Linked DNA regions of Homo sapiens: all the other regions are linked to region 7. The links are contacts of gene promoters, found by promoter capture Hi-C in blood cells and fetal thymus (Javierre and others, 2016). All regions are on one chromosome and are shown on one strand. The core of a region is centred on a gene start or on the middle of the fragment in contact, and the rest is flanking DNA. Distances in the headings are between cores, read along the strand shown.

The links. Contacts are between HindIII fragments. The CHiCAGO score rates a contact against its expected background, and 5 or more counts as called.
Region 1: a contact is called between a fragment that was not itself captured here and the fragment with the promoter of OR4C5 in region 7, in 9 of 17 cell types (endothelial precursors, total B cells, M2 macrophages and 6 more). The highest score is 11.0, in endothelial precursors.
Region 2: a contact is called between a fragment that was not itself captured here and the fragment with the promoter of OR4C5 in region 7, in 17 of 17 cell types (monocytes, naive B cells, total CD4 T cells and 14 more). The highest score is 51.6, in monocytes.
Region 3: a contact is called between a fragment that was not itself captured here and the fragment with the promoter of OR4C5 in region 7, in 2 of 17 cell types (fetal thymus and M1 macrophages). The highest score is 5.5, in fetal thymus.
Region 4: a contact is called between a fragment that was not itself captured here and the fragment with the promoter of OR4C5 in region 7, in 11 of 17 cell types (fetal thymus, total CD4 T cells, total CD8 T cells and 8 more). The highest score is 18.6, in fetal thymus.
Region 5: a fragment that was not itself captured here is called in contact with the fragment with the promoter of OR4C5 in region 7 in 5 of 17 cell types (M0 macrophages, naive CD8 T cells, erythroblasts and 2 more); the score reaches 7.9 in M0 macrophages.
Region 6: a contact is called between a fragment that was not itself captured here and the fragment with the promoter of OR4C5 in region 7, in 4 of 17 cell types (M0 macrophages, endothelial precursors, erythroblasts and 1 more). The highest score is 7.3, in M0 macrophages.

What each region holds. Positions count from the first base shown.
Region 1 is chr11:50,086,844-50,090,874 of GRCh38, forward strand. LOC101060224 (a long non-coding RNA gene) reads right to left here and starts at 1,634. Exons shown (of 3, transcript XR_931262.2): 1 at 1,443-1,634; 2 at 517-581. The HindIII fragment of the contact is 3,370 bases long and covers 445-3,814 here.
Region 2 is chr11:50,005,739-50,009,685 of GRCh38, forward strand. No RefSeq gene overlaps it. Among named protein-coding and RNA genes, the nearest start is that of OR4C12, 25 kb to the left of the region's middle. The HindIII fragment of the contact is 5,877 bases long and covers 1-3,947 here.
Region 3 is chr11:49,955,275-49,958,760 of GRCh38, forward strand. No RefSeq gene overlaps it. Among named protein-coding and RNA genes, the nearest start is that of OR4C13, 4.6 kb to the left of the region's middle. The HindIII fragment of the contact is 251 bases long and covers 1,978-2,228 here.
Region 4 is chr11:49,976,592-49,980,401 of GRCh38, forward strand. No RefSeq gene overlaps it. Among named protein-coding and RNA genes, the nearest start is that of OR4C12, 4.0 kb to the right of the region's middle. The HindIII fragment of the contact is 6,886 bases long and covers 1-3,810 here.
Region 5 is chr11:50,106,455-50,109,911 of GRCh38, forward strand. No RefSeq gene overlaps it. Among named protein-coding and RNA genes, the nearest start is that of OR4C12, 130 kb to the left of the region's middle. The HindIII fragment of the contact is 7,100 bases long and covers 1-3,457 here.
Region 6 is chr11:50,211,922-50,215,384 of GRCh38, forward strand. No RefSeq gene overlaps it. Among named protein-coding and RNA genes, the nearest start is that of LINC02750, 85 kb to the right of the region's middle. The HindIII fragment of the contact is 687 bases long and covers 1,306-1,992 here.
Region 7 is chr11:48,363,961-48,367,844 of GRCh38, forward strand. OR4C5 (olfactory receptor family 4 subfamily C member 5) reads right to left here and starts at 2,505. Exons shown (of 1, transcript NM_001348223.2): 1 at 1,525-2,505. The coding sequence starts at 2,505. The coding sequence ends at 1,525. The HindIII fragment of the contact is 2,303 bases long and covers 1,217-3,519 here.

The DNA.
Region 1 (4,031 bases), core at 880-3,379, 1.7 Mb after region 7:
GTCTTCATCATTTCATTCATAAAATGGGGATAACTGTGGCACCTACCTGTGATTTTGTGAGAATTAATAAGATATTACGCTTGGTGTTATTGTGATCATTATACCTATTCTAAATCATTTGACAAGGACAGTGATGGATGATAACATCAAAAGATTAGAAACTGTAGTGGGGTCTCTCAGGCAAAATTCCATACAAGCAAATTACTGTCTCTACAAAGCATTCCTGTCAAACTTAATTCACCATTTCCTGAAAAAAAGTGCCATCTTCATTGTTCAGGTCTTTACAGTGCTGGTTTCCCTGCCTGGGCAGCTCACTCCATCCCATCCCTCCACTTCCCCCTTCCCTCCCCACTCTCATACCCACTCTTATACAACTCTTCCTCACCTTTCAGGACTTGGCTTCAAAGGTCACCTTAACTAGAAGCTTCTCTCACACTCCAGAAAAGCTTCCCATTGCATATGATGCATGCACTATTATTTGATCATTTTTGAGTCATATTCCAAGCCTTTTTGTACCTGAATAACATGTTGCCCAGTCAGTCTCTCTTCCTGGACTCTGAAGTCTTTCATGGTAGATCCAGCTGAGAGTGACAAAAAGACATTCTTTTGAAATAGAGGGATGACACAGACAGACATACGTTCTTAAACGTTTTAAATGGTATGTGAAAATTTAACAAAATTAAAAGGCTTGGGGGAACACTTAGGAGGGAAAGTTACTGGGAATGTCATAAAGGATTAATTTGTATTTTATTTTATTTTATTTTAATTTTTTGAGACAGAGTCTCATTCTGTCACCTAGGCTGGAGTGCAGTGGTGCAATCAGGGCTCACTGCAGCGTCAACCACCTGGGCTCAGGTAATCTCACTTAATTTTTATTTGGTTTAAAAAATTCAGTCTTGGTTGAGCATGGTGGCTTATGCCTATAATCTCAACACTTTGGGAGGCTGAGAGGGATATATTACTCGATGCTAGCAGTTTGAGATCAGCCTGGGCAACATATTAAGGCCCTGTCTCTACCAAAAAAAAAAAAAAAACTGAGTGACTGTGTGGAAGACAATTTTTCCACAGACTGGGGGTGAAGGAAATGATTTCAGGACGATTCAAGTACATTACATATATTGTGTACTTTATTTCTATTATTACTACACTGTAATATATAATGAAATAATTCTACAACTCACTATAATGCAGACTCAGTGGGATCTCTGAGCTTGTTTTCCTGCAGCTAGACTGTCCATCTAGGGTGATGGGAGACAGTGACAGATCATCAGGCATTAGATTCTCATAAGGAGAGTGAAACCTAGATCCCTCACATGCACATAACAGGGTTCATGCTCCTAGGAGAATCTAATGCTGCTGCTGATCTGACAGGACATGGTGCTTAGGTGGTCATGCAAGTGATGGGAGGGCTAGAAATACAGAAGAAGTTTCCCCTCATTCACCTGTTGCTCACCTCCGGCTCTGTGACCCTGTGGTTGGAGTTCCCTGCTCAAGTGCATTCAAAAGGATCCATCCCATGCCATTCTTCAGAGTCATCTTGACTGCCACAGTGGTCAAGTGTAGCAACTCTAAGCTCACAGGGCTTATGCCTCACCTGGCATTTCATCACAATCAACAGTAAGTGATAGCTTGAGTCATTGTGAGGTCACTTCCTGGAAATTACCAGCATCCCATGTCCCATTGACAAGGAGCTTAGCACTGCTCCTTGGATAACCGAACCTATGCCCAAATTCCATCTGTGTGGGTCTATCTCCTGGGACCCTTCCTAGCATAAATTCTGTATTTGTAGGAGTCCAATCAGGAGACACAAACCACTCAAAAGTTTAAACTAGAATGAGCAAAGTGGCTCACACTTGTCATCCCAGCACTTTGGGAGGCCAACGCGGGTGGATCACTTTGAGCTCAGGAGTTTGAGACCAGCTTGGGAAACATGGTGAAACCCCATTTCTACAAAAAAACACAAAAATTAGCCAGGTGTGGTGGTACATATCTATAGTCCCACCTACTCGGGAGGCTGAGGCAGGAGAACTTCTTGAGCCTGGCAGGTGGAGGTTGCAGTGAGCAGAGATTGTGCCACTGCACTCCAGCCTGGCTGACAGCATGAGACCTGGTATCCAAAAATAAAAAAAAAGAAAAAAGAAAGAAAAAATATATATGTAAATTTAATATAAAAAGTATTAATTTTGGCCAGGTGCGGTGGCTCATGTCTGTAATCCCAGCGCTTTGGGAAGTAGAGGTGGGTGGATCACCTGAGGTCAGGAGTTCGAGACCAGCCTGACCAACATGGAGAAACCACGTCTCTACTAAAAACACAAAATTAGCTGGGCGTGATGGCACATACCTGTAATCCCAGCTACTCGGGTGGCTGAGGCAGGAGAATCGCTTGAACCCAGCAGGTGGAGGTTGCGGTGAGCCAAGATCGTGCGATTGCACTTCAGCCTGGGCAACGAGTGAAACTCCATCTCAAAAAAAAGTATTAATTTTAACAGAGGATCAGCATAATGAGGGACACACTAGCACAAAGTAAAGACAACTCTAGAGAATACAGAACTAGCAGAGGCCAGGCATGGTGTCTCATGCCTGTAATCCCAGCAATTTGGGAAGCCTAGGCAGGAGGATCGCTTGAGGCCAGGAGTTGGAGACCAGTCTGAGCAACATAGTGAGACCCTGTGTCTACCAAAAAAAGAAAAAAAATTTAGCCAGGTGTGGTGGTGGTGCACATCTGTAGTTCCAGCTACTTGGGCATCTAGGGTGGAAGGATCCCTTGAGTCTGGGAAGTCTAGGCTACAGTGAGCCAAAATCATGCCACTGCACTCCAGCTTGGGTGACAGAGACCCTGTCTTAGAAAGAAAAAGAAAAGAAAAGAAAGTGCTAATCCCCCTATGGGGATCTCCTCTTCTCCTCCCCTCTCTGGAACCTCACTTGTCAGTTCTTCCTCCCACTTCCCTGTATCTTTAAACTATCCCCTGCTTTTAGCCCCTTCCCACTATCATTTAAATTACTCAAACTTCTTCTATTTTAAAAACCTCTCCCTAAACTCAGTGTGTCCCCTGCTTTAGGTCCCAGCACACCCACTGAGCCATCTGCTCCCCCTGGTGCCTTCTCCACACAGCAGCCTGAGCCATGTCTCTAATCCATTAATCTCATCACGTTACTCCAAAGTTTACATCACTTCTCCTTGTCTTGGGGATTAAATCCAAACTTCTTAACAGCCCCTGTTCTGCCCTGCCTTGCAAGGCAGCCTCACTGCTTGCCCCTCTCCATTTTACCTGCTGTGGAGTCCAACTGAGCCTCATGTGCCCCATGAATCAGGCATTAGATTCTCATAATGAGCTGAATCCTGCTCTTATGAAATCCACACTCTTTCTCCTCTGGGAGTCTCTGAAGTGAGTGATACCCTCTGCTTAGAATACACTTCCCCTTAAACCTCTACTCTCTTCCTGGATAGCTTTGGGTCCTCTGTCACTTGTCTGCTTTGGCATCACCCCCTCCTGGAAGCCTTCCTTGACTCTCCAGATTCTCAGGAGCATGAGAGGTGAGGTGCTCCTCCCATGAATGGATGGAGATTAGGGATTATGGGTTATTCATGTTTAATTCAACAGTTCTTAGCTCAGTACCTGGCACAAAACAGTTACTGTGGTGGCCAAAGTAATGACCCCACCCCCCACCCCCCACCAATTGCTCATGTCCTATGTTACACAGCACAATTACATAGGAAGGGGGAATTAAGAGTACAGAAGGAATTAATGTTGCTAATCAGCTGATCTTAAAACAAGATTATCCTGGAGTATCTGGAAGAGCCCATGTAATATCAAGCTTTCTTTAAATGTGGAAGAGGGAGGCAGAAGGTTAAGAACCAGAGACGGCGGGTACAATGGCTCATGCCTGTAATACCAACACTTTTGGAGGCCAAGGCAGGAAATTCCCCTGAGTGCAGGAGTTCAAGGCCAGCCCTGACAATATAGTGAGGCCCCATGTCTACCAAAAAAAAAAAAAAAGAAAAATTCACTGAGTGTCACGGTGCTTACCTG
Region 2 (3,947 bases), core at 705-3,204, 1.6 Mb after region 7:
GAGACAAAACTTCCAGAGGAACGATCAGACAGCAGCATTCACGGTTCACAAAAATCTGCTGTTCTGCAGAAACCTCTGAGGATACCCAGGCAAACAGGGTCTGGAGTGGATCTCTAGCAAACTCCAACAGACCTGCAGCTGAGGGTCCTGTCTGCTAGAAGGAAAACTAACAAACAGAAAGGACATCCACACCAAAACCCCATCTGTACGTCACCATCATCAAGACCAAAGGTAGATAAAACCAAAAAGATGGGGAAAAAACAGCAGAAAAACTGGAAACTCTAAAAATCAGAGCGCCTCTCCTCCTCCAAAGGAACACAGCTCCTCACCAGCAATGGAACAAAGTGGGATGGAGAATGACTTTAACGAATTGAGAGAAGAAGCCATCAGATGATCAAACTATTCCAAGCTAAAGGAGGAAGTTCGAACCCATAGCAAAGAAGTTAAAAACCTTGAAAAAAAATTAGATGACTGGCTAACAAGAATAAGCAATGCAGAGAAGTCCTTAAAGGACCTGATGGAGCTGAAAACCAAAGCACAAGAACTACATGATGAATGCACAAGCCTCAGTAGATGATTCGATCAACTGGAAGAAAGAGTAACGTGATGGAAGGTCAAATGGATGAAATGAAGTGAGAAGAGAACTTAAGAGAAAAAATAATAAAAAGAAATAAACAAAGCCTCCAAGAAATATGGGAGTATATGAAAAGACCAAATCTCCGTCTGATTGGTGTACCTAAAAGTGATGAGGAGAATGGAACCAAGTTGGAAAACACTCTGCAGGATATTATCCAGGAGAACTTCCCCAATCTAGCAAGGCAGACCAACATTCAGATTCAGGGAATACAGAGAACTCCACAAAGATACTCCTCGAGAAGAGCAACTCCAAGACACATAATTGTCAGATTCACCAAAGTTGAAATGAAGGAAAAAATGTTAAGGGCAGCCAGAGAGAAAGGTCAGGTTACCCACAAAGGGAAGCCCATCAGACTAACAGCGGATCTCTCAGCAGAAACCCTACAAGCCAGAAGAGAGTGGGGGCCAATATTCAACATTCTTAAGGAAAAGAATTTTCAACCCTGAATTTCATATCCAGCGAAACTAAGTTTCATAAGTGAAGGAGAAATAAAATCCTTTACAGACAAGCAAATGCTGAGAGATTTTGTTACCATCAGGCCTGCCCTAAAAAAGCTCCTGAAGGAAGCATTAAACATGGAAAGGAACAACTGGTACCAGCCACTGCAAAAACATGCCAAATTGTAAAGACCATCAAGGCTAGGAAGAAACTGCATCAACTAACGAGCAAAATAACCAGCTAACATCATAATGACAGGATCAAATCCACACATAAAAATATTAACCTTGAATGTAAATGGGCTAAATGCTCCAATTAAAAGACACAGACTGGCAAATTGGATAAAGAGTCAAGACCCATCAGTGTGCTGTATTCAGGAAACCCGTCTCACATTCAGAGAAACACACAGGCTCAAAATAAAGGGATGGAGGAAGATCTACCAAGCAAATGGAAAACAAAAAAAGGCAGGGGTTGCAATCCTAGTCTCTGATAAAACAGACTTTAAACCAACAAAGATCAAGAGAAACAAAGAAGGCCATTACATAATGGTAAAGGGATCAATTCAACAAGAAGAACTAACTATCCTAAATAGATATGCACCCAATACAGGAGCACCCAGATTCATAAAGCAAGTCCTTGGAGACCTACAAAGAGACTCAGACTCCCACACAATAATAATGGGAGACTTTAACACCCCACTGTCAACATTAGACAGATCAATGAGACAGAAAGTTAACAAGGATATCCAGGAATTGAACTCTGCTCTGCATCAAGCGGACCTAATAGACATCTACAGAACTCTCCACCCCAAATCAACAGAATATACATTCTTTTCAGCACCACACCACACCTATACCGAAATTGACCACATGGTTGGAAGTAAAGCACTCCTCAGCAAATGTAAAAGAACAGAAATTATAACAAACTGTCTCTCAGACCACAGTACAATCAAACTAGAACTCAGGATTAAGAAACTCACTCAAAACTGCTCAACTACATGGAAACTGAACAACCTGCCCCTGAATGACTACTGGGTACATAACGAAATGAAGGCAGAAATAAAGATGTTCTTTGAAACCAATGAGAACAACGACACAGCACACCAGAATCTCTGGGACACATTCAAAACAGTGTGTAGAGGGAAATTTATAGCACTAAATGCCCACAAGAGAAAGTAGGAAAGATCTAAAATTGACACCCTAATGTCACAATTAAAAGAACAAGAGAAGCAAGAGCAAACACATTCAAATGCTAGCAGAAGGCAAGAAATAACTAAGATCAGAGCAGAACTGAAGGAGATAGAGACACAAAAAACCCTCAAAAAATCAATGAATCCAGGAGCTGGTTTTTTGGAAAGATCAACAAAATTGATTGATCACTGGAAAGACTAATAAAGAAGAAAAGAGAGAATAAAATAGATGCAATAAAAAATGATAAAGGGGATATCACCACCGATCCTACAGAAATACAAACTACCATGAGAGAATACTATAAAACACCTCTACCTCTATGCAAATAAACTAGAAAATCTAGAAGAAGTGGATAAATTCCTTGACACATACATCCTCCCAAGACTAAACCAGGAAGAAGTGGAATCTCTGAATAGACCAATAACAGGCTCTCAAATTGAGGCAATAATTAATAGCTTACCAACCAAAAAAAGTCCAGGACCGGATGAATTCACAGCCGAATTCTACCAGAGGTACAAGGGGGAGCTGGTACCATTCCTTCTGAAACTATTCCAATCAATAGAAAAAGAGGGAATCCTCCCTAACTCATTTTATGAGGCCAGCATCATCCTGATACCAAAGCCTGGCAGAGACACAACAAAGAAAGAGAATTTTAGACCAATATCCCTGATGAATATCGATGCAGAAATCCTCAATAAAATGCTGGCAAACCGAATCCAGCAGCACATCAAAATGCTTATCCATCATGATCAAGTGGGCTTCATCCCTGGGATGCAAGGCTGGCTCAACATACCCAAATCAATAAACGTAATCCAGCATATAAACAGAACCAACGACAAAAACCATATGATTATCTCAATAGATGCAGAAAAGGCCTTTGACAAAATTCAACAACCTTTCATGCTAAAAATTCTCAATAAATTAGGTATTGATGGGACGTATCTCAAAATAATAAGAGCTATCTATGACAAACCCACAGCCAATATCATACTGAATGGGCAAAAACTGGAAGCATTCCCTTTGAAAACTAACACAAGACAGGGATGCTCTCTCTTAGCACTCGTATTCAACATAGTGTTGGAATTTCTGGCCAGGGCAACCAGGCAGGAAAAGGTACTCAATTAGGAAAAGAGGAAGTCAAATTATCCCTGTTTGCAGATGACATGATTGTATATCTAGAAAACCCCATTGTCATGTCCTTTGTAGGGACATGGATGAAGCTGGAAACCATCATTCTCAGCAAACTATCACAAGGACAAAAAACCAAACACCACATGTTCTCACTCATAGGTGGGAATTGAACAATGAGAACACATGGACACAGGAAGGGGAACATCACACACTGGGGTCTGTTGTGGGGTGGGTAGAGGGGGGAGGGATAGCATTAGGAGATATACCTAATGTTAAATGATGAGTTAATGGGTGCAGTACACCAACATGGCACTTGTATACGTATGTAACAAACCTGCATGTTGTGCACATGTACCCTAAAACTTAAAATATAATGAAAAGAAATTAATGAAGAAAAGAAAAAAAAAAAAAAGAAAGAAAAGATAAGACCTGGCATGGTGGCTCACACTTGTAATCCCAGCACTGTGGGGGGCCAAGGCAGGCAGATCACTTACAGTCAGTAGTCTGAGACCAGCCTGGCTAACATGGCAAAACCCCATCTTTACTAAGAT
Region 3 (3,486 bases), core at 853-3,352, 1.6 Mb after region 7:
CGCCTGTAATCACAGCACTTTGGGAGGCCAAGGAGGGTGGATTACTTGAGGTCAAGAGCTCTAGACCAGCCTGGCCAACATGGAGAAACGCTGTTTCTACTAAAAATACAAAAATTAGCTGGGCGTGGTGGCGCATGTCTGTAGTCCCAACTACTTGGGAGGCTGAGGCAGAAGAATCACCTGAACCCAGGAGGCAGAGGTTTCAGTGAACCAAGATCTCGCCACTGCACTCCAGCCTGGCTGACGGAACAAGACTCTGTCTCAAAAAAGAAAAAGAAAGAAAGAAAAAAAAAAAAAACAGAAGCCAAAGGGAGAAAAAGAGTCCGCAGAATGAGTAGGCACAAGGTTGAGCTAAGAGTGCATCTATGAGAGGAAATAAGTAACAAAGGCCAGAAGGTGAGAAACAATCAGCAGGAAACCCAAACAATTCACTATCACTGTAATTATCAATTTATCTATTAATTCAACAATTATTTATTGAACCCCCATTGTGTGCTGGTGTAGGATACCGAGATTGTAAAAGGGAAAATACAAGACATGGAGCTGTAAAGTAGGATCTTGGTAAGATCAAAAAGGGTCTCATAATTCTGTTAAAACTAAATACTAAGTACCATGGAGAAAATAGTGAAAGTACTTTTAAACTAGCAAGAAATGTAGTTGGATTTGTTTTGGGAAGGATAACTCTAGCTACAGTATGGAAAATGGATTGAAGGGTCAAGCCTCCAAAGAGAAGAGCAACCAGGAGGTAATTATAATGATTTAAGTGTGAATAAATGGGGGTCTGAACTTTGGTGACTCCCAAGAGATGCCGAGTGTTAGGGACACTGTTGCATCCAGCTCAAATGCCTTTTGCCTGGTAAGTGAACTCATGCCCCACCTGCTGTGTCTGGGCTGCTAACAGCTCACAGCCCCACCCTTCCCTGGACAATTGCACCACAGAAAATGGGAGGTGCCACACTCAGAAGATTATGCCCACTGTCAAGGCCCAGCAGTGGCCAATGACTAACAGACACGAAAGTTTAAAAGGTTGTTGTATAATACGATGTATCCTCCAGAGCTTCAATGGCTCCAGACTCAAGGCAGACTTCAATTGAGACCACATCTGAAGCCTGACATCTGAAGCCTGACTCCAGTTGAGATCATGTCCTTTCTTCCCTCTACCATAGTTAGCTTCCCTCAAACTCTTCTCCTTATAAATCACTTTTGTAAAAATTCTCAATCTCAGATCTGCATCTAAGAAACCCAAACTAACACAGAGTAATAGAGACAGTTTAAGATACATTAATGAATTTTAAGGAAAATAACTTGATATAGGATGAAGATTAGAGAGAAAAGAGTCATGGATGAAACTATGTTTCTGCTTCAGAAGGAGGATACTCAGAAGATTGAACAGAGAAAAGATAAGCCTACTTTGCCAGCGGAAGAGGCCTCCCCACCTCGAGTAGAGCCTTTCCTTCACCCTTAGCAGAAGAAACCTCTTCACCCCTACTGAAGGTTTAACCTTGCATTGCCTGAGGAAATTATATGTCCTTCCCTGAAGCAGTTCCCCAGCAAAACAATGTTGATTTCCCTCAAGACCCATCTTCATCATCCCTCTTTGCTTCTAGACCTATAACTAGACTCAAGTTTAAACTCAACTGTGAAAGGTTTATCTGTGGCATTGCAGATGGCATCTGAACTCACTCCCAGAAGATGATAAACGTTAACTTCAGAACAAATCAAGAAAACTTTATTTGAATGCAAATAAAGCAATGTTCTTCCCTAAAAAGTCATCAGTTTATCACACAGTTTCAGTCAGGTTAGCTGAAGGTGTATTAGTAAGGGAGTGGGGAAAGAGAAAACAAATGTAGGATTATTCTACTTATCTCTAAGTGCTCATGGAATGTACACCACAATAGAAAATACACTGGGCCACAGTACAAGATGCAATACATTTCAAAGGACTAAACCATACAGAACACATATCTGATAATAGTAAGCTTCAACTAAAAATTTATAACAAAAGTATAACTAAACATCCCCCAATTATTTACAAATCAAGCAACACAATTCTAAATTATTCATATATTAAAGAAGTGCCAATGAAAAATTTTTAATGAATTTTAACTTAAAGGTGGTAAAAACAAACAAAAAAAAATACTAGATGCAGCTAAAGAATTGCTCAGAGAGAAATATATAGCTTTAAATGCAAGTACTAGAAAATAAAAAAGATTAAAGGAAATGAACTAAGCTTTCATCTCCAGAAGCTAGAAATAGTAGAGCAAAATAAATGCATAAAACATGGTATAATATGAACAGTAAGTAGAAGACAGATATACTTGAAATAAAATTAATTTAAAAATAGAGAAAATACATAAAGACTAGGGTTGATTTTGTGTAAAAATTAATAAAACTCATGTCCTTAGCAAAATTGGTTTTAAAATATAAGGAAAAAAAATTATGAGAATCAGCAGTGAAAAGGCTATGCTGTAGATTAACAAGATAATAAAAGGCCATTACAAATGAATTTTGCTAATGTCCTTGCCAGTTTAAAAGAAATGGACCTCTGCTTTGAAAAACACAGCTTTCTATTTTTTGTCATTCAAAAATGTCTGTAAAAACAATATTTCGATTGAATAAAGGAAATATATGCATCCTCCATATGCAAAGAGTCTTACAAGTTAATTACAAATCATTCAGCTACAAAATGGGCAAAGGAAAAGAACAATTTCCAAAAGAAGAATGAATGGTCAATAAATGTATGAAAAAATTTCAACTTCATTAGTAACTGGAGAAATGCAAATTTAAAACATTTGTACTAAGCAACTTTTAATTTTTATTAACAAATAATAATTGTACATATTTATGGGGTAAATAGTGACATTTTGATACATATAATGTATAGTGATTAATTCAGGGTAATTAGCATATCCATTATCTCAGACATTTATCATTTCTTTGGAAAAACACAACTTTCTAAACACACACACACACACACGCACACACACACAAGCAAAACCTGAATAACATACATGTGCTAAATTCACACTTGAAAAATTTTCCCCTGACTTCTCCCAAAAATACCAAGATTATATCCCTGTAGCTTTATCAGTGAATTCTACATATCACTTTTAAAAAATACTACCAATTTTATATCAACATTTTCAGGGATTAGAGAAAATGAAAAAGGGCATTACAAGAAAAAATATCAGATAAATATCTCTCATTAACACAGTCACAAAAATTCTGAACCCAATATTTAGCAAATAAAATACAGCCATATATAAAAATAATAATGTATCACGAGCAAGTAAGTTTTGTCCCAGGAATGAAATGTTGATTTCACATTCAAAATCAATTCATGGCCACATGCAGTGGCTCACACCTGTAATCCCAGCACTTTGGGAGGCTGAGGTGGGCAGATCGCTTGATCTCAGGAGTTCAAGACCAGCTGGGGCAAATATTGAGAACCCCATCTATACCAAAAAATTTTTAATTACCCGGGTG
Region 4 (3,810 bases), core at 144-2,643, 1.6 Mb after region 7:
CTAAAAATACAAAAATTAGCTCAGCGTGGGGGCAGGCACCTGTAATCCCAGCTACTTGGGAGGCTGAGGCAGGAGAATTGTTTGAACCTGAGAGGCAGAGGTTGAAGTGAGCTGAGATCATGCCATTGCACTCCAGCCTGGGTGACAGTGCAAGACTATGTCTCAAAAAAGAAAAGAAAAGAAAAGAAAAAAGAAAAGAAAAGGAGTCAGCAGAATGAATATGCATGAAGGTGAGAGCAGTGCTTGTAGGAGAGAGAATACATAACAAAGGCCAGGAGGTGAAAAGAGTATGCAGGAAACCTAGTCAGTGCAGTATGGCCATGATTATTAATTTGCTCATTCATTCAGCAATTATTTACTGAACCCCCAACTTGCGTGCCAGCCACCATGAGAGACACTGAGCTTATAAAGTCTTGTAAATTGTAAGATATGAAGCTAGAGAGATAGGAAAAGAGAATATCAAGAAGGTGCTTATAGTTGTGTTAAGACTTAACACTAATGACTATGGGAGAAACAGGGAAAGTATATTTAAGCTAGTGAGTAATGCAGTTAGATTTTAATTTTATAATGATAATCCTAACTACAGTATGTACAATGGATTGATGGATCAAGACTGGAAGCAGGAGAGCACCTAGGGGTTATTGTAATTATTTCAGTGTGAAAGGCTGGAGGCCTCAGCCCTGGTGTTGCCAGTAAGGACGCAGAATGTGGTGGACACTATTGTGTCCAGCTCAAATCCCCTTCACCAGGCCAGTGCACAAGTGCCCCAGCTACTGTGGGTGTGGGCTGCCAACAGCTCACAGCCTTGCCCTTTTCTGGACAATTGCACCAGATAAAATGGGAGCTGCATCACTTAGGGTATTTTGTTCCCTCTCCCGGAGCCCACCAGCGATGATTGACTGGAATAGGGTTTAAGAGGTTAGTTCCTTTGTCTCAAGGTGGAAGCAGTTCTGTAGTACAATGTATACCTCAGAGCTCCCGGGGCTCCAGGCTAGAGACAGATTAGTTGAGACCACATCCTTCCTTCCCCTACTATTGTATGTTTCCTTCAGTCTTTTCCCCTTATAAATCACGTTTATTAAAATTCCCATATCATCCTCTGAGCCTAGAGAAATCAAATTAACATGGAGAGATATAGAAGGTTTCGAAGAATATTTTTGAATTCTAAACAAAAGAACTTGATATAGGATGAAGATTAGAGAGAGAGAAGTCACAGATGAAACTTGGGCCCTGGCTTAGATCACTGGATGGAAGGAAGAGAGAGAAGATTAATGAGGTTTTGAATACATTGAATGATGTTCAAGTCTCAATGTAGTAATAAATATTACACACATAGGTAATCCTAGGACCTGTCATCAGAAACAAGACCTGGAGGCAAGGCATAGAGGCAGAAAAGTGGTAGACAGGGGTTGGGGGAATGGGCATAATGGGGAGATGTTGGTCTAAAAGTACAACATTTCAGTTAAACAAACTGAATAAAGTCCTGAAGATGAAATGAACATCCTGGTGATTATACTGAATAATAATAATGTAATGTATACTTGAAATTTACTAAGAGAATAGATCTTAAATCTTACAAAAAAAAATAGTACCTATGTGAGGTGAGAGCTATGTCAACTAGCTTGATTATGGTAATCATTTTACTGTGTATACATATATCAAAACATCACATTGCATATCTTAAATATATGCAATTTTTGTTAGTCAGTATTACTTCAATAAAGCAAAGAAATATTAGAAATTAAATGGTATGATATAATGATTTTATAATACATAGTTGATTTTTTATTGTACAGATACTAATATTTGTCTTATTATTCTAAGTGAAGTAACTCAGGAATGGAAAACCAAACATTGTATATTCTCACTGATATGTGGGAGCTAAGCTATGAGGATGCAAAGGCATAAGAATGATACAATAGATTTTGGGGACTTGGGGAGAAGAGTGGGAGGGGGTCGAGGGATAAATGACAACAAATATGAGGCAGTATATACTGCTCGGGTGATTGGTGCACTAGGATCTCACAAAACTCCACTAAAGAACTTATCATGTAACCAAATACCACCTGCACCCCAATAACTTATGGGAAAAAAAATTAAAAAACACATACAATGGATTATACCAAGAAAAAAATTACTAATATTTGTGATTAATATCTTCCTAAATCCAAACTGTTCAAGAAAAGCATAATATGTTAAGTGAAGTTTGGCTTATCTATGACAGTTGATGGAATTATTAATGCTAAGTCAAAGTATAAAATCATTCAGGAATGAGCTGGATGTGGAAGGTAGAGCTGGAGGTTGAGGCATAGTGGTCTCAGGAACACAGATTCAGGGATACAAATGGGAATGGAGAATGAGATATCTCTGATAACAGCTTTTAATCTTTTTTATTACATGAGTAGTAGTAGGAAATAGAATTGCGTGGAAAAAAGTTAAACTAACATAAACAGTGAAGTGCACTATGCATATAAGTCATCTTTATTAAGGCTGTTTACCTAATGATCCTCTCTAAGACTACCTGTACATGCTCAGTGGGGAACACTTATGAAAGTTTTAACAAGTATTACCAGTTTCACTGACAATTTTCTATCCAAACTGTCTAGTCATCTTTATTAATTTCTTTACTCTAGAATGAGTCAAAAGACACTCTAGAATTGTGTCCCAGGAATCTCTGCTGCATCCATCTTCTACTCACCACTCTAAAATTTCTTGAGTATCTTCATGCCAGGTACCTGTCTTGGTGACTTATGTGTGATTTTGCCTTCCTGCCAGATTGAAGTTTCAGTCGCCCTTGGATATCAATTCTGGTTGTGTCCCTGGATGCTATATATTTCCAGTTTTCTCATAACTTTATCTTTCTACACATTCCTGTTCCCATTCTGGTACCAGTCTAATGCCTAGTGACCCATCATATACCTTTTGACAAAGGAGCAAAAACTAGATCCTTCATGCTTTGAAGAGTATAACAATTGCCAAATCATGAAAATTCAGTTAAAAGTTTAAATAAGCCAGGCACATGCCTCACTTTGTAATCCCAGCACTTTGGGAAGCCGAGGTGGGCAGATCACCTGAGGTTGGGAGTTCGAGACCACCATGGCCAACGTGGTGAAACCTTGTCTCTACTAAAAATATAAAAATTATCCAGGCATGGTAGCACCCACCTGTAGTTTCAGCTACTCAGGAGGCTGAGGCAGGAGAATCGCTTTAACCCAGGAGGTGGAGGTTGTGTTGAATCCAAATCACACCACTGCACTCCATCCTTGGCAGCAGAGTGAGACTCTGTCTCAAAAAAAAAGTTTAAATAACAATAATGTTTAAGTTTTTTCTACAAGACCACTTCCGAGTAATTGTTCACCCTCTGTCTGTATATCTTCAGTGAAAGGATTAATCAGATACCAGTGCATAACTAATAGTAAAATTAAATGAAATTATAACATTAGGTAATACAGAATTTTTAATATATGTTTTATTTTCATTTTTAGGCTTTACAATAAAAAAAATAGTTGCAGCTACCTACTACCAGCAAATTATGTAGAATAAGGAACCATATCTCAATTTATGTCTCATTCTGCCACTAACTTGAGGTTTGGTCAAATCATGCCATATATATGCACTTCAATATCCTGTAAAATGTATTATAAGAATTAAGAATAAAATTTGGGTGCTAGTTATCAATGTATTGCCTCTCAGCTCCAAATACAACCTTCATTTCCTGTGCATATTAATGAAAATAAGCCCTGTAGGAATTTATCCTCTGCACCTAGTCTGCTTTGATGTTAAGATTTGTCAATATAGAGAATCAAAAGG
Region 5 (3,457 bases), core at 504-3,003, 1.7 Mb after region 7:
TGGAGTCTCACTCTGTCACCCAGGCTGGAATGCAACGGTACAATCTCGGCTCAATGCGACCTCTGCCTCCCAGGTTCAAGTGATTCTCCTGCCTCAGCCTCCTGAGCAGTTGGAACTACAGGCACCTGCCATGACGCCTGGCTAATTTTTTGTATTTTTAGTAGATACTGGGTTTCATCATGTTAGCCAGGCTGGTCTCAAACTCCTGACCTCAGGCGATCCACCTGCCTTAGCCTCCCAAAATGCTAGGATTACAGGCATGAGCCACCGCGCCTGGCCACAAGTGCTTTTTTATTAAATACTTCTGTGGTTCCCCTTCCCCATACAAAAAGGAAAAAAAAAAACAAAAAGGAAAGGGGAAGCTATTGTTCAGGGCCAGTAAGGGGTTTATCTAGCTTTGTGGCATAAAAGAACCCATAATACTTAGTAAATTTAATAATATTTAATAAATTTATTAATATTTAACAGCATTTAATACATTTATTAATATTTAACAATACTTAATGGATTTGATAAATTTATTAATATTTAACATTACTTAATAAAATTAATCCATTGTCTAGCCCTTGCATCTGAGAATTATTGCTGTAACAAAACACCAAGGACAACTAGGCCCTCCTACCTCCCTGTAGCCTCAACTAGATAAATGCAAACATGTTGGCTCATGCCTGTAATCCCAGCACTTTGTTAGTTTTTTTTTGTTTTTTGTTTTTTTTGAGCTGGAGTCTCCCTCTGTCACTCAGGCTGGAGTGCAGTGGTGTGATCCCGGCTCACTGCAACCTCTGCCTCCTGGGTTCAAGTGATTTACCTGCCTTAACCTCCTGAGTAGCTGGGACTACAGGAGTATGCCACCACGCCTGGCTCATTTTTTGTATTTTTAGTAGAGAAGAGGTTTCACTGTGTTGTCCAGGCTGGTGTCGAGCTCCTGAGCTCAGGCGATCTGCCTGTCTCAGCCTCCCAAAGTGCTGGTATTACAGGCTCACCATGCCCAGCAATCCCAGCACTTTGGAAAGCCAAGATAAGATCTGTTGAGCCCAGGAATTTGAGAGTAGCCTGGGCAACATAGGGAAACACCGTCTCTACAAAAATTAAAATACTAGCTGGGCTTGGTGGCATGTACCCGCAATCCCACCTACTTGGGAGGCTGAGGTGGGAGGATCACTGGAGCCTAGAAGGTTGAGGCTGCAGTGATCTATGATTGTGCCATTGCACTCCAGCCCAGACAACAGGATGAGACCTTATCTCTTAAAAAATAAAAAGATAAATGCAAACGTGAATCACCTACAGAGTTAAAAGGCCACAAATGTTCCAATGTTAGCAGGGAGCCTAGGAGGGAAGAAGCCTCCACAGCTGCCCCAGTCAACCCAACTAAGAGAAAGAGGTTGGCGGCCAGAGAAATAGGTAAGGCAAGCCTTCATTTGAGCCCATCAGCTTCTGCAGAAAAAATATTCCATGGTCATGGGATGACCTGACGGACTGATGCAAACTGTCCACACAGCTAGTTTATCTTTGCCTCCTCTCTAGATCCAAAATGTACTGGAAACGAATGCCATATGAGATCTATCCCTGCCCTCCTTTTCACACACCCTTTCTAGGAGAGCCCACACAAGCTGATGACCCTAGAATTCTGGTTAACATAAATCTAGATATCATGCTAGATAGAGCTCTGTCTTTCCAACTATCTTTTAGACATCTTTACCTGGATGTCCTGAGCATCCTATGTCCAAAGATTAATTCCTTCTCCCCAACAACATATGTTCTTTGTTTCTCCACTTTCCCTGTCTCAGTTAATTACACTGCCATGCACCAAGATACCTGAGCCAGAAACCTGAAGGGCATCCTCCAGTCCTCCTTCTGCCCACCTCCTGTTTCTATTCACTGTGTCAGCAATAAGCTGTCCTGATATTTTACCTCCTAAATATCTCTTAAAACCTCACTTCCCCTTCATATTCACTGGCACCCCCTATTCAGCATCTCATCACTCAATAAACAATATTTAATGAGTATAAAGCATAGCTAGGTGTTTTAAAAGAGAATAAAAACAGTGTGATCTTTGTTTTCTAGTGGCTTAACATCTAGTTACTTTTTTCTTTTTTTTTTTTTTCTGAGATGGAGTCTTGCTCTGTTGCCCAGGCTGGAGTACAGTGGCGTGATCTCAGTTCACTGCAACTTTTGCCTTCCAGATTCAAGCAATTCTCCTGCCTCAGCAAGTAGCTGGGATTACAGGTGCCCACCACCACACCCAGCTAATTTTTCTATTTTTAGTAGAAATGGGATTTTACCATGTTGACCAGGCTGGTCTTAAACTTCTGACCTTGTGATCCACCAACCTTAGCCTCCCAAAGTGCTAGGATTACAAGCATGAGCCATGGTACCAAGCCAACATCTAGTTATTTCTTATCTGAACTATTCAGCTGTACTCTTGCCTCTTACCATTCATTCCCTAAACAATACCCAGAGTGTCTCCTCCTCAAAACTTAAATTAGATCATTTAATTCAGGGGTCAGTAAACTTTTTCTATAAAAACAAGACAGTGAATATTTTAGGTTTCTGGGTCATATGTTTCTGTTGAAACTACTCAACTCTGCTCTTGTAACATTAAAAACAGCCCTGGACAATATGTAAACCCATGGGTGAGACTGTGTTCCAATATGGTTTATTCATTAAAATAGGCAGCAGGACAGATTAGACCCATGGGCCGTAGTTTGCCAACCCCTGATTTAATTGCAATGCTTCTTACTCCATTGGATTTAATCCAGATTCCTTTCCATGGCCTAGAAGGTGCTCCATCCTCATCTGAATATTACTTGCTCCTCTAGGCTCCACTATGCTCCAGCCACCCTGACCAGCTTTATGGTGCTTAAACACTATGTCAAGTCTGTTTACATCTCAGGTCGCTGCACTTGACATTCTACCCAGCAGGACCAGACCAGATCTTGACCAGATCTTCTTCAAGCTGCCTCAGCTCAAATGTCAGAGAGGTCTTCACTGCCCACCCCAATAGGTCAGTACCCATTCCAATGCCCAAACATTCTAACTCCCATAGCTCTATTTATTTTCTTCAAATTACTTATCACCATCTGAAAAAAATATCATTTGTTGCATGTATATAGCCTGCTTCCCCACCACCACACCACCACAAGAATGGAACCTCCCCGAGAATAGAGACTGAGTTACTCATTCTCCCCTAGTTCCCAGGACCTAGATATGTGCCTGGCACTTAGCAGGGGCTCAAAAAATATCTGTTATCTGAACTGTTATTGCCCCTAGTTTCACTCCCTTCAACTCACTGGTATCTTCACTACCACTAGTCATCTTTCAAAAATACAAATGGGGCCAAATACAATGGCTCACACCTGTAATTGCAGCACATTGGGAGCCTAAGGCAGGAGGATCTCCTGAATCTAGGAGGGTGAGGCTGCAGTGAGCCATGATCATGCCACTGCAGTCTAGCATA
Region 6 (3,463 bases), core at 399-2,898, 1.8 Mb after region 7:
ATCCTCTGGGAACAAATTCCTAACTCCAATCCACTCTATATGATAAACCTACCCAAGCTCCTGTCATGGAAGTGATCAGACAGTTGAATTTTGTACTTCTGATGGTAAACAGTGCATAGTGTATTACTCTGTTTTCATGCTGCTGATAAAGACACACCCGAGACTGGGTACTTTATAAAGAAAAAGAGGTTTATTAGAGTCACAGTTCCATGTGTCTGGGGAAGCCTTACAATCATGGTGCAAGGCCAAAGGCATGTCTTACATGGTGGCATACAAGAGAGAATGAGAGCCAAACAAAAGGGGAAACCCCTTATAAAACCATCAGATCTCATGACACTTATTCACTACCACAAGAACAGTATGGGGGAAGCCAACCCATGATTCAATTATCTCCACCAGGCCCCTCCCACAACATGTGGGAATTATGGGAGCTACAATTCAAGATGAGATTTAGGTGGGGACACAGCAAAACTATTTCACGTGGCCAACAAATGCTTTATATTATAATTATTCTTGTTTGAGTACTGGTATGATATGAGGCTGGAAACCAGATGGAAATCAAACATTTTAGAAATTCATCCCAAAAATCATTTAGTGGAAGGGAGGTGTAGTCATGACTCCAGAGGCACAGTCAGGCAAAAAGCCACATCCCAAGTATTAAAAGCCTGCAAAAATTGCAAGGTGTTGATTAGAGGTCAAAACAAAAAATCTGCAAACATATCAAGAACAACAGAAACCATAATATAGTTGTCCAAGCAAGGGCAGGTTCTGGAAGAAATAATCCTGAATGTGAACCACAGGTCAGGAACAAAGAAACCCAGGGAAGGTGGTAGAAGCAGGAAAGTGGGAGTGACATGGAGATACCAACTAAAGACAACTGCTTTGGTCTGGACTGCTTTCAAGAAGCTCTCCATGTCAGCTCCTATTCCCTGATGTCCTAAAATAACATCTGACATGCAACAAGTAGAAAGGATTCATCAAAAGGGTACAAGTTGGAGCAGGCTTATTGGACATTTACTCAAGACAAAAGCTCATCTTGGAGATTTCCAAGAGCCACTTTCTTTTTTCTTTTCTTTTCTTTTTTTTTTTTTTTTTTTTTTGAGATGGAGTCTCACTCTATTACCCAGGCTGTAGTGCAATGGCATGATGTCAGCTTACTGCAACCTCCACCTCCCAGGTTCAACCAATTCTCCTGTCTCAGCCTCCCAAGTAGCTGGGATTACAGGCACGAGCCACCACACCTGGCTAATTTTTGCATTTTTAGTAGAGTTAAAGTTTCACTATGTTGGCCAGGCTGGTCTTGAAAGCTTGGCTTCAGGTGATCCACCTGCCTAGGCCTCCCAAAGTGCTGGGATTACAGATATGAGCCACGACGACCAGACAAAGAGGTCAAAAGTGTCTATGAAAGTATAAACACTTTGCTTATTGATAAATGAAGTTCCTTCCACAAAATAGCCTTATCTTTTCACGTTAGAGTTCTGCAGGTGTCATCACCTCACAACACATAAAATAACACCAACCATTGTCTATTGATTGTGACAATGCTTGTTCCTGTCTCCTGGGACACATATGTGAGCACTTTAAGTTGAACTTTGCAAATGGCTTTCTGAGACTGAGCTTGACCAGAGCTGACCTTAGTTGGATCAAAGCAGAAAAAAGCAATAGATCAGTTCACTGCAAGGCCAAGAGGAGAGGAGGTTTTTACTTCCCCAAGTGGAGGTGAGTCAGAGGAACAAATTCTAGTCCCACTTCTAACACTATCTAGCCAGGTCAGCATACGCAACTCACTTCAATTCTCTGAACTTCACCCAATCTCAAAGGGATGCTGTTGTAACTCAGACAATGGTGACATCAATGATCCTTCCCCTTAAACTCTAGATTTTAACATTGTTTTGCAACCTCATTCCCTTAATTGTGGATAGCCCATTGTCTCTCCCAAAGACTTGTGAAGATTATGGGCAGGCTTCCATTTCCTTGCCACCTTTGGCTTAAAGCTTTGTCATTTACTCTTGTCATGATATATTATCAGTACAAAATGATGTTGCTTCCCATTATCCAGACACAGAAACCATCTCTTCCCCTTGATTTCCCTCAAACCCACTAACACAAGACCTTTGTATTTGTAGCAGACTTCTGGATATTCAAATACAAACAATTAAAAATAGGATCTTTAACTTCTTTCTTCTCAAAGTTCATTATTGAACATCTCCTAAGACAGATCCTCTTTCTCTTCTCTGTTCTCCTCTGAATTTGTATTCTTTCTGTTGTAGAATAGCTTACTCATATCTTTTTAGCACCATCTCCTTCCAACCTCAACTTGCATTCTACACTGAGTGGCTCATTGTGGGGGTTCAGTCAGGCTGGTGGGAAAAGTTTTAGTTATAATAACCACAAACCCTCTTGGAAGGCCTGAGAGTTTGCATAACTTTGGTAATAGATCTGGCTGAAGGCAGCCAGAGTCCCTTTGCAGGAGCCAGAGAGCTTAGGGTGCAAATACAAAGGAATGTAGAGTAGTTTATCTAACTAACTTGTTTACTCATGTGGTCCTAAGACTAACCTTTGATTTACCGCGGGTGCTTAATTGCTTTTTACTCTGAAAGTCCACAATGTCAATTACCCTCTAGTGGTGTTGACTCGAGCCTTTGTCAATTAAACTTCACTGAATAAACGCGAGTCTCACTGGCTGGTCAGGGCTGTGGTTACAACTAAGTGGCATGGATGCTCAGTAGAACTGGCAAAGCAGAATATCTGTGTATCAGTGTATTTTATTCGTCCATTATTGGGTCAGTGTCTGCAGGACAGACCCCCCCCCAGATCATAAATGTCATTCCCTAAGCAGAGATACCCTCCTCTCTAAAAACACTTCTGGGCTGGGTGTAGTGGTGCAGTCTTGTATTCCCAGCACTTTGGGAGGCTGAGGTGGGAAGCCCACTTGAGCCCAAGAGTTCAAGGCTGCAGTGAGCTATGATCTTCTGACTCTTGTCTTTAGATATTAACTGTTTATATCTTTATTTAAAGAACTTACAGTAACAGTAGACATAACTACTGGCCAAATTCTCAGGGACTTCTGAGCATTCATAATGCTCAGCACTTATAATGCACTAGGAATTGTGCTGAGAATTTTCACATCAGTCAATTCACACATTGCCTTCAAAGCTCCCAAACGTGGGGTCGACATCCTAAACTGAGTTCAACCTGAGGAATCCATCAACCTGACTCATTCTAAGGTCACATCATATAGAGTGGTTTGGAGTTTGGAATTTGTTCCCACAGGATTAACTGTAGTGAAAATATCCCGATGTTATAGAAGAATGAACAAGAAGAGAAGGAGGAAGAGGAAGATGAGATCTAATGTGAATCTGACTCAATTTCTTGCAGAACTATTTGAGTAAAACTAGCAGTGGAAATGTCCACAGATAAATCAAGATGTTTCTGACATAGGAATAAGAAACTGCAGTTTTCG
Region 7 (3,884 bases), core at 1,255-3,754:
CAAATGTGGCTCTCCTTAAAAAGGAGTGGGCTGGAAAACATAGTGGTAGCACATAGATATTTCATGACCAGAAAATGGGTTAGCCACAATTAAGAAAAACTCATCTCCTTGGAATAAATTGTTTACTAAACTGTTGAATATTAATTTGTATGTAATATATACTTAACATAAGAGTTAAGCATAGTTGTTTAGTCCTGTGGGTTAATTCAGTTCTTACGAAGGTAGAAGTGAAGTTGCTGAGATTTATAGGACTTCTGGCCTGGCTCTGGTCTAGATCTTTTTAAAAATCTGGATTATTTTTCTTAGGATTGCACTGTATCCACATCTCAAATTACTTCCCATCTCAATGGTCTGCAGCTGGGCTACAATTCTTTATTCAAATTTGAATGTGCAGAATTTCTGCCTTAATTACTCACATGTCACTAATTCTCTTTTTTTCATTTTTTGAGATGGAGTCTCACTGTGTTGCCCAGCCTGGAGTGTAGTGGCACAATCTTGGTTCACCGCATCCTCTGCTCCCCGGGTTCAAGTGATTTTCGTGCCTCAGCCTCCAGAGTAGCTGGGATTACAGGCATGGCCACCACGCCCAGCTAATTTTTCTATTTTTAGTAGAGATGGGATATTACCATGTTTGCCAGGCTGGCCTCAAACTCCTGGCCTCTAGTGATCTGCCTGCCTCTGCCTCCCAAAGTGTTGGCATTACAGGCATGAGCCACCACACCCAGCCACCAATTCTCTTTTGGGTCAGCTACTTTGTTTCTATTAGCTAAGGCACAAATCCATCCAATAAAAGCCATTTTTGAGGTGAAGTGGTGTATAGGATATTTTCGACAGAAAAAAAGTGCTTCACAAAATATCTTCTACCTGAGAAATAATGTCCAAGATTGTTCTATGATTGTACCTGGATGAATTTTCTACACCTCTTTGGCTGTAGACAGAGAAAATAATTTATTCTGGAGACAGCCAGATTATACTGTAAATGATCACCCCTGGAGTTGTGAACACAACAGCATTAATTTTGGATGAGTGCTGCTTTAACGACTCTCATTCCTCAAAACCCAATCGTTTCTCACCTATCTCTCTCTCTCACAATAATAGTTCTACTTCGATTTTATTAGTTGGGATTAAAACTATGCATTTTCAACAAAAGATTTAGCCATTAGGTCTTTTTGTTTATTTTAATTATTTGGCCTGTTAGTTATATACTCTATACCGAAGCTTTGCAGATAATTATTCTACTAAACACATAAACTCATGGGTTTTCCATACACTGTAACATTTTTATGTTGACTAGCAATGTCCCCCTGATTAATAATTTGTAAATGTGAAGAAGTTTCAAATTGGCAGAAACATTAGTCATCATTTAATCAGATATTGATCTTTTATGAAAAGGCATCATTAAAGATTCCAGAAAATGAGGGGAATAAAATATACTTAAACTCACTATTCTGACCTCAAGACCTTTACCCTTTTCATTAGTCATACCTGTTGTTAAAATATGAGTAGGTTCTGTGTTTATCTTCTCTAATCACACAAATTGTTACCCCAGATTATTTGGCTCCAGAGCTGCTTCATGGCATTTTTCACCTCTGTGTTTCTGAGGGTGTAGATTAAAGGGTTTAACATGGGTGTTACCACAGTATAAAACACAGACACAGCTTTATCAATAGGGAAGGTGATCATGGGTCGAAGGTACACCAATATACAGGGAACAAAGAATAGGACGACTACAGTGATATGGAAGGCGCAGGTAGAGAGAGCCTTCCGCTGTGAGCAGAGGATTAGGACGTAAGAGGTAATAAGAATAGAAAAAATGAGCATACACATCAGCCCACTGTTGGCGGCAACAAAGAGTCCAAAGACGTGAGTGTCAGTGCAGGAGAGTTTTAGCAGAGGGAAAAGGTCACAGATGAAATGGTCAATGACATTGGGGCCACAGAAGGGCAGCCAGACTATTAAAAGCATTTGAATCAGAGCGTGAAGAAATCCCCCGACCCATGCCATGGCCACCAGGAGGCCACATACCTGCCTGTTCATTGTGATCAGGTAGTACAGGGGCTTGCAGATGGCCACATAGCAGTCATAGGCCATCACCACGAGCAGAATGATCTCAACTCCCCCAAAGAAATGTTCTACAAAGAGCTGGGTCATGCACCCACTGAAGGAAATAGTTTTCTTTTCAGTGAGTAAGTCAAATATCATTTTGGGGGCCATGGTAGAAGAGGAGCAGCCATCTATGAAGGAAAAGAAAGACAGAAAAAAATACACGGGGGAGTCCAGGGCTGGGCTGGTGGTGATTGTCACCACAATGATTAGGTTGTCTACCATGGTGAGAAAGTAGATGAGTGTAAACACAGCAAACAAGAGTTTCTGTGCCTCTGCGTTCTGTGTCAGGCCAAGCAAGATGAATTCCGTTATGTTGTTCACTTGCTCGAAATCCAGTTTGGTATTTGGATAATTGATTTTTCTGTGAATAGCACAAGGATTGCAATTTGACACATACATTTTGAACAATAAAATAATTTTGGTCAGGATTATTTTCTGTAACACTGATGGAATCCCTAAATCTATAAACCCAAGACTAAGTTGAGCTATGTTATTCATGACATAATGAACACAGATACCTCTTCTCTCTCATACAGAGACACACACAGACACAGAAAAACACATACACACATTCATTTATGTACACAAACATGATTTTATGATGTTGACATGTCAGGCATTTTTCCTATGATTGTACATGGATGGATATTCTCTCAATCACCCTTACAGCATTTTTTTCCCCATAGAAAAACAGCAGTAAAAAGAGGAGGAGCAGAGGCTTGAATTCCTGTCAATTTCCTAGTTTCTTTTTTTTTTCGTTTTTTTTTTTTTTTTAACCACTCATGTTCATGAGGCTACGGTGCAGAGTTTGTTATTCTGGTTATTTTTAACTTGTTTCAGGGTAACTATAAAACATCAGGTGAGTTCACTTTGAAATTAAGGATGATGCCACCACATTTCAGAATCAACTGAACTGAGTGAATGTTTGAGGCTGCAGTAAGATACTCCATGGCAGTTAGATTTGAGAATTTATGCCACATCCAAACAGAATTGTCTAAGAATACAATCAAACACTTCTGGAAGCATATCCTGGAAGAGGATAAAACAGCATGATGCAAGGCAGCATTCCCCAGATGTATCTGAAACTTTAGAATTCACTTGGAGAACTGTCATGTTTAGAATTCAGGGCATTTTGCAAATCAAAACCCAATTTAAGGATGACTATGAAAAATTATATGGATCTGTTTAGAAAACATAATTTTAAGGTGAGGGAAAAAAAGCACCATAATTTATTGGACAGAGTGTTTTTTAGAATCAGATGCCTAATTTTTACATTTTATCTTCACTGACTATTAGCCACATGATATTGTGTACAGATCTTAGTCTCATTGTGCCTAAACTTTTTCATATATAAAATGGGAAAAATAACAAATGGAATGGAGGAACTAAAGAATATCATGATTAAATATATCAAGCTTTGTATCCTAAAGGTAAACCTATAGCTTACCATGTACTCCACATCTTGATAAAGAACACAAGTAAACAAAATTTTGCATATAATTATTTTTATCTTTAAGTTATTTATCATTGTAATATTAAGAGAGAAAATAAATGAACTCAGTACTCAACTCAAGGTAAATAACAAGCAATTATATTCAGAAAAAAAGGTGTAACACAGAAAGACATCAGGCAATAAAAAATTAGACTTGATAACTAAATTAAAAAGCTTTTTGATATTTTAAAAATACAAAGAAAACTGAAGAATAGAAATGAGCTCAATAAGAAACAAATATGGTAATACCACCAAAGGATATTATTTGTGAATAATATTTAGAAAG